2 separate regions of the Homo sapiens genome follow, and region 1 is linked to region 2. The links are contacts of gene promoters, found by promoter capture Hi-C in human tissues and cell types (Jung and others, 2019). All regions are on one chromosome and are shown on one strand. Each heading gives the region's core, a stretch centred on a gene start or on the middle of the fragment in contact. The rest is flanking DNA. Distances are from core to core; before and after follow the strand shown. Region 1 overlaps LARGE1 (LARGE xylosyl- and glucuronyltransferase 1). Region 2 holds the start of ISX (intestine specific homeobox).

Region 1 (3,207 bases), core at 41-2,540, 1.3 Mb after region 2:
AACCTGTGCCTTGAAGGTTAAAACTGGCTTTTGGGCCTCTTTAAACCATCTCCTGTGCTTTGCACTTAGTGGGAGTGCATTCAGTAGTTGAGGTGGTGTTCCTATTTCTGACACTTAATTTGCATTTTTAACCTACCCAAGGGAGCTTGTTATTGCATGATGTATCAGGTGAGCTATTGTCAAGACTGTAATCTAATTAAATGCTGGGGTCCAGAAGCCTCAGTGCTTATAATGTTGCAGCGTTTATTCCACACGTGTGGCCTTCGTGCTCAGAGTGCTGCTTATCATCCACACAGCAGACATATTTTGACAAAGGCTTGCCTTCTTTTATGAATCCCAAACTAGTAGCCTTCACATTTGCAATTTTCCTTCTATTTAATGAAGTGGTTCCAGATCATTCTGTGACAATCGAAGGTAAACATTGCTCTGCACAAGGCCTACTCTTCTGGGATTCTTCCATGCCTCTTTCACATTTCTCAAACTCTCAGGCCCAAATGTCAGATGGTGTGGGATTTGGAGAGTCGGGAATCCTGAGCATATTTGAGTTGAAAATTCACACAGAGCTTGAGTGAGTGAGGATGGCGGTGGCGGGGGAGGGCATGAACTGTTTTTGCTTTTATTTAATGGCGCACCTTTGAGAATGATCTTGTGGCTTTTGAGCAGGTTGCAGGACTTCAAGGTCTCCATAGTGGTTTGGTTTGCACCTTTCTTTTTGGATGTGGAGGTTTCCCCTAGGTGGCCAGCTGATTTTTTGGTGCCTCCATTTATGCCCTAACCCCTTCTTTTTCTCTTAGATCATTGCATACCGAGCACATATTTATTAAGTACCAAGTGTACGTCTGATACTGGACTAGAGTCCGAGAAAGACACTAAGATTAAGACATAGTTTCTGTCCTGATGAAAATTGTTCTTTTGTTAGTCTTAGGTGATAATGACCTTTTCTGAAGATAATAGGTCCTCGGAGGAAACCAGGAGATGAGATGATGGAAACACTGATTAATGAGTAAAAAGGGAAATTATAGAAAGGTGGGAAGCAAGAATTTAAGGCTGAGAGCAATCTTCTTTTGCAGGGAAGGACTCACTATTGCCATTTAGCATACTTGCTATAATAGAAGTATGTATGCCGGTGTTCAGGAATCCAGAAAAAGGGGCACCTAAGTATCTGGGGACATCCAAGAAAGCTTTCATGGAAGAAGATGCCTCCTGGGCTGAATCTTGAAGCATGACTAGGAATAGGCCAAGGAGAGGAGTCAGAAGACCACGCTTGAGTCCTGCCATTGTTGGGCTCTCCAGGAAGCGATGGTCAAGGTCTGTGTGCTGAGATCGTATGCCAGATGTGGTGTTAGGGATCGGCATGTTTAACCCAATCAGTCAGATGATCCCAGTAGGAAAAGCAACACAGCAAGTCTGAAACACTGTATCATACCACACAGTGCCTCAGCTCTCAAATTTCTCTATTGGCTTTTGAGCCCTGCAGAAAATCAGCTGTGTCTTTCTACATTCAGGGGGTCCTTCTCCGCTTCTGTACTCATACCTTGAGGTGCTCTCATCTCATCCCCCGCCTCCTTCCATGCCCTCATCTTTGGCTCTCAGTGATTCTGTATTAATAGCAGCGATTAAACTGCCTCATCTCATCAGGGAGGAGATATTAATCTTCATCAGGCCCAAGGAAGAGCTTAATTTTTTCCTGCTCTTCTCCTCTCCCCAGGCTGCCCCACTGAGCTCAGGCACTGTCAGCTGCACCACTGTCTGTGGGACATTTAGTGATCTGCTTCTGCAGATGCGTTTCAGTGAGTTCACTTCTCTGACTCCCTCCCTTAGCCTCCCTGCACCCAGAGCTTCACAGGCTGTTATTGAAGACCACTGTCAGGAGAGGGAGAGAAGGGGAAAAATACTCCCTCAAATAGAAATTCCCAACTTCATTGTCTTGCGTGGCTGCAGGGTAAATTAGACCAGGACAGTACCGCAGCTGAAAGCTGTAGGTTTTTTGGTTTATGAAATCCTATTCAGCCCTTGGAGAAGTATGCCTTTTTTCATGCTATGATTCTGCAGTTAGCTGTGAACTGAGGATGTCAGATGCCCAGGGGCAGGAACAGGAGACAGGGAGGCTCGAGAGTTCATCAAGAAATTAGGATGGAAAAGAGCTATTCCCAAAGCCAGGCATCCCAGGCTGGTCCTGCCGGTGTGCACCAACAGCCAGTGATAACTCAGCGCCCATCAAGTTTCTACACGTGCCCAGTGAGCCCAGGGCTGGCACGGTAAAGGACACATGGTATCTCTTTTAATCTTGACAAACTTGCGAGGCATGTACTGTTATTCCATTTTTCCAATAAGGAAACTAAGGCCTGAGAGAGTAAGTACGTACGCTGAGGTTACACGGCTTGCAAATTTTGTCTTTGCTTTCTTCACTCTTCCTGTCATACTCTGCCCACTGTATCTAGGATGACTGTATAATGTCTTGTCCAAACTGGAACACTGTTAAGAATGCGGGGGGGATAGGGACATACATGGGGACATACAGTTTCCAGTCCATGGAAACTGGGAAGCATGGTCTCTCTTTTTTTTTTTTTTTTTGAGACGGAGTCTCGCTCTGTCACCCAGGCTGGAGCGCAGTGGCGTGATCTTGGCTTACTGCAAGCTCCGCCTCCTAGGTTCACACCACTCTCTGGCCTCAGCCTCCCAAGTAGCTGGGACTACAGGCTCCTGCCACTGCACCTGGCTAATTTTTTATTTTTAGTAGAGACGGGGTTTCACCGTGGTCTCCATCTCCTGACCTCGTGATCCACCTGCCTCGGCCTCCGAAAGTGCTGGGATTACAGGCGTGAGCCACCGCGCCCGGCCCTGGCATGGTCTCTTACGACTGCCCAACCAGGAGGCTGAGGGATGCTTCGTGCTCCTTTGGAAGCAGAGCTAGCCAGATGGACACTATTCCCCCTTCCTCATTTCCCTGCCCTCCTCTCCTCCCATCTGAGCCATCTGAGGCCCCTGAGTGCCCTGCTGGCTTTCCAAATGCCTGATGCTAGAGAGCCTGATTAGTTTGCTTTCACAATGAAGAATCTCAAATAACCACTGCCCCTTCGCCCAGCAAGCAGCCTTCATATCCAGACCACCTCCTAGGATCTATTTAACTCCCTCTACTCTGTGGGATTGGCCTTTGTTCAGCCTTTGAGCACACCTGGGTTGGGGAAATGGTTATTTTTCCCAGAA
Region 2 (3,680 bases), core at 281-2,780:
TTTCACAGATGAGTTTTCTTATCTGTCCAGTTATGATAATCATGCTTTTCTACTGAAATTAAAAGAGAATGCCTATGACATTGTCAATGCTGAATAAATGGTAACTAGCATTCTTAGCCGGGGCCTGGTTACAATAACAAGCCCCAGGTCCCTGCATTCTGCAACTAACTGAGCCTTGGTGTCTGAAGCTGAAAAGCACAGTTTTGGGTTAGATTGAAAGGTATATCAGGAAACCAGCCCAGAGCCAGGTCTTGCTCTGAATTTTAGAGTCCTCTATCCAGTTAATATGGACGGAGAAGCTTTTTCTCTGCCTGAGCCCAGCTGGGTCTTGGAGACCAGGAAACAGAAAGAAATGATCAGAAGACACTTACCCTGGGGCTGGTCCTTTGGAGGCTTTTCTAGCCCAGAGCCTGAGGCCGCAGCTTCTCCGGGGCCCTCTTCACCTGGCCCTTCTGGTCTGTCCATATCACTCCTCCTGGCAGGCCTCTTTAGGATCGCCTCAATGGAGAAGGACAGGCTCAGCTTCTTCGGGGCCTCACAGCACCCCAAGCTATTTCTCTCCATACCCCTGCAGAGAGCAGGGCCCACCTCAGCACACATTGAGGGGCTCAGGGGTGACTCTGTGTAGGCCAAGGAGGGTGCCAGTGGAGAGTGGCGTACTTCCTCCCCTGAACCTCCTGGGGTCAAGAGGGCGCGTGGAGGTGAAGAACAGAGAGCCTCCAGTTAGATGATCCAAACAGGATTTCGTGTCCACAGGGACTTCCATGGGCAGGTCACAGCAGAAGAGCTGGAAGGAGTGGTATCCTGTGCCCACGGCTCAGCCCTTACCAGTTTGACATCAAAGGAGTCACCATGGCTGAATTGGGGTTCAATCTTCCAGAGAAGGGTCTTCTCGGACACAGTTGCCTGCACAATCACCAGGTTAGGCCAGGATCCCTGAGGTCACCGCCCAGTGGCGAACAAAGAGAAGAGGGAGAAACAATAAGGCACAGGAAAGAGGAGGTCAGTCTCCAGAGGAGGTTTGGAGGCAGGGGTCCACCTTTGCCCTTTCTCTGGCTTCTGGCCCTTTCCTGTGGCTCTAGCCAGCCTTTAGGAGGAGGTTGGAGTGCCACCCTTGGCCTCAGGTGGCCAATTCAGTCCTGGGCTTTACTGCAGCTTGAGGGGTCTTCCCAGACACCCGTGTTTACTTCCTTCAGTTCTGCTGCTTCCAGACTCCAGAACGTACCTTCAGCGCATCAGTGCTCCTGCTGTCCTGCAGGTGGAGGCTGAGGAAAGGGGGTCCCTGGGTGCTGCCAGGCCTGTCTCTTCTCTGTGCCAGGGCTGGGCTGAGCTGTGGGTCTGATTCTTCTCAGGTGCCTCTGGGCTGGCCCTGGCTTTTTTTCTGTTCTATTTTCCCTGACGTCACTTTACATGCGAAGCCCTCTCTCCACAAGCGCCTGACCCAGGGTACCTCTCCCTTCCTTGTGGGGTCCTTTATGCTGTTTCTCCCAGTCTCCTGAGACAGACTGAAGAGGCCCTTTCTCTCTGACTGGGAGCTGACAGTTGTTGATCTGTCCTTGCCTGGAATTTTGCTCCAAATTACTGTGTAACCAAGGAGGAGGGGGCAGTAAAACAGGCTGATAAGAGAAAAACTCTCCACGCCCCTTAAGGCTGGGGATGCAGGTGTCAGGGTAGAAAAGTGGCAGGAGGCAGTGGGGATCTGAAGGACAGGTATTGGAGGCCCCAGGGAGGGGCTGTGCTGGGGAACTGGCCAGAGCAGGGGAAGGGAAGGTGGGAGCAGAATGGCCAGGAAGTGTACCCAGGCCCAATAAAACATGTTTACTCAGCCAGGAGAGCCTGTGGTCATGTGTGGGGGAGGCTGGGCTGAGGTGCAGTCTGCTGGCTGTCAGCCTTAGGCATTCATTTGCTCTCAGATGTGCTTTCCATGGCTTGCAAATATCAGATCAGGAAAAGCATTCCAGGGCTTTCTGATATGGGGAAACTGAGGTCCAGACCAAGGAGGTACAGAAAATGTGATGGCAGGGCCTGATCACAGTACTCCCCTGGGGATGTCCATGATGCCATGCTGGCCACAAGGAGCCAATTTGCACAGGAGGGATGGATACCCTGGCAGAGACTGTGAATGTAAATTTGGATGTTAGAATCTAGATCTTCTCATAGAGGGCAGGGGTGGGAGGTGAAGGATAGGGAACGTTGGTCTCCACTCCCTGAGAAGAGTGAGTCAGGAGAGAGAGGGACTCACCCTGAGAGAGGGAACAGGTAAAGATGCCCCATTTTAGGAGCTGTGCCCCTTGGAAGTGTCAGGCTGTCTGATTTAGTTAGGGGGGGAATAGGCTCTGCTGTAGTAGCAAGTAAACCCTATAGTCTTGGGAGCATAATAGCTCACCCACATCACATTCTAATGTAGTCATTTAGGGACCCAGATTCCTTTCAAACAGTGATGCCACCATTCTCCAATCATAGGCTCCAAGTTTTCTGGGGAAAGGGAGACAGCAAAGGAGAATTTTTTTTTTTTAATTTTAAGTTCTGGGATACATGTGCAGAATGTGCAGGTTTGTTACATAGGTATACATGTGCCTTGGTGCTTTGCTGTACCTATCACCCCATCATCTAGGTTTAAGTCCTGCGTGCATTAGGTATTTGTCCTAATGCTCTCCCTCCCCTTGCCCCCAACCCCTTGACTGGCCCCAGTGTGTATTTTCCCCCTCCCTGTGTCCATGTGTTCTCATTGTTCAACTCCCACCTATGAGTGAGAACATTCAGTATTTGGTTTTCTGTTGAAAGGAGAAATTTTGATGAGTCAGAAGTGGAAGTGGTTGATAGACCTTCTGCTCACATTCTGTGGCCAGAGGGAGTCACATGACCCTGCTTAGACCTATCCCTTTCCTAGGGCTGGACAGGGGAGTTTTCCTGCCAGGAGACAAATGAACCAGTTTGTTGACTTTTGCAGTGAAGAGGCCAGAGTCCCCTAGAAGTCAGGCCCACCATTGGTCCATGGAAGGGGTTGTTGGATGAGAGGACAAGGTTCCTTACACTCAGGGCAGAGGAAGCTCTGATGGGTACTTGAGATGCTTGGTCAAGAGCAAGGACAGGATCTTTGGGGGTGGAAGTGGCAGAGGCAAAAAGAGAGAGGCGATGGAGCCCTTTCTCTCTGCTGGACCTCGTGCCTGCAGCTGTGTGCTCACCGTTTCACTTAATCCATTCAACAGCCTGATCAATTAGGTGTCATTAATGCCATTTAACAGCTGAGGAGACATGCCCAGAGAAGTGGAGTGATAGGACAGCTAGCCACTAGAAGCAGCAAGATTCAAACTCAGGTGAGTCTGGCTCTGCACCTCACATCCCTCCCACTTTGCTGTAATACCCAGAGACCATCTGGCTCAGCCCTCTCATTTCACAGGTGAAGAACTGAGCAGCAGCGAGAGAAATTGCCAGAGTTACACCTGTTGTTTTCAGCACCTTGTTTGATTTCCTTTCATTTTGCCTCTTTCCAAGGTGTGACTGGCCCCTGGACAGGTTAACAGAACACCCTTCTGTGGTGTGGACCCGGACGCTTACTCCCCTCTCTCCCATGATTAGCCATAATCCTGACGTTACTGACTTCAATTCTTTTATCACTCACATGTATGCTCATTCCATGAATATTTCTTGAGCATCTACTATGTGCCAAACACTCTGGA

Evidence for each region. Contacts are between HindIII fragments. The study calls those that stand out against the background at their distance.
Region 1: a fragment that was not itself captured here is called in contact with the fragment with the promoter of ISX in region 2 in 1 of the 25 tissues and cell types used here (dorsolateral prefrontal cortex).

What each region holds. Positions count from the first base shown.
Region 1 is chr22:33,738,212-33,741,418 of GRCh38, reverse strand. The region is part of intron 2 of LARGE1 (LARGE xylosyl- and glucuronyltransferase 1); the gene reads left to right. All of the region lies in intron 4 of LARGE-AS1 (LARGE antisense RNA 1), which reads right to left. Among named protein-coding and RNA genes, the nearest start is that of LARGE-AS1, 15 kb to the right of the region's middle. RefSeq lists enhancers at 2,269-2,788, 2,789-3,207. The HindIII fragment of the contact is 7,179 bases long and covers 1-3,207 here.
Region 2 is chr22:35,064,008-35,067,687 of GRCh38, reverse strand. It overlaps ISX (intestine specific homeobox), which reads right to left and starts at 1,530. Exons shown (of 5, transcript NM_001303508.2): 1 at 1,226-1,530; 2 at 372-936. The coding sequence starts at 600. The HindIII fragment of the contact is 5,369 bases long and covers 74-3,680 here.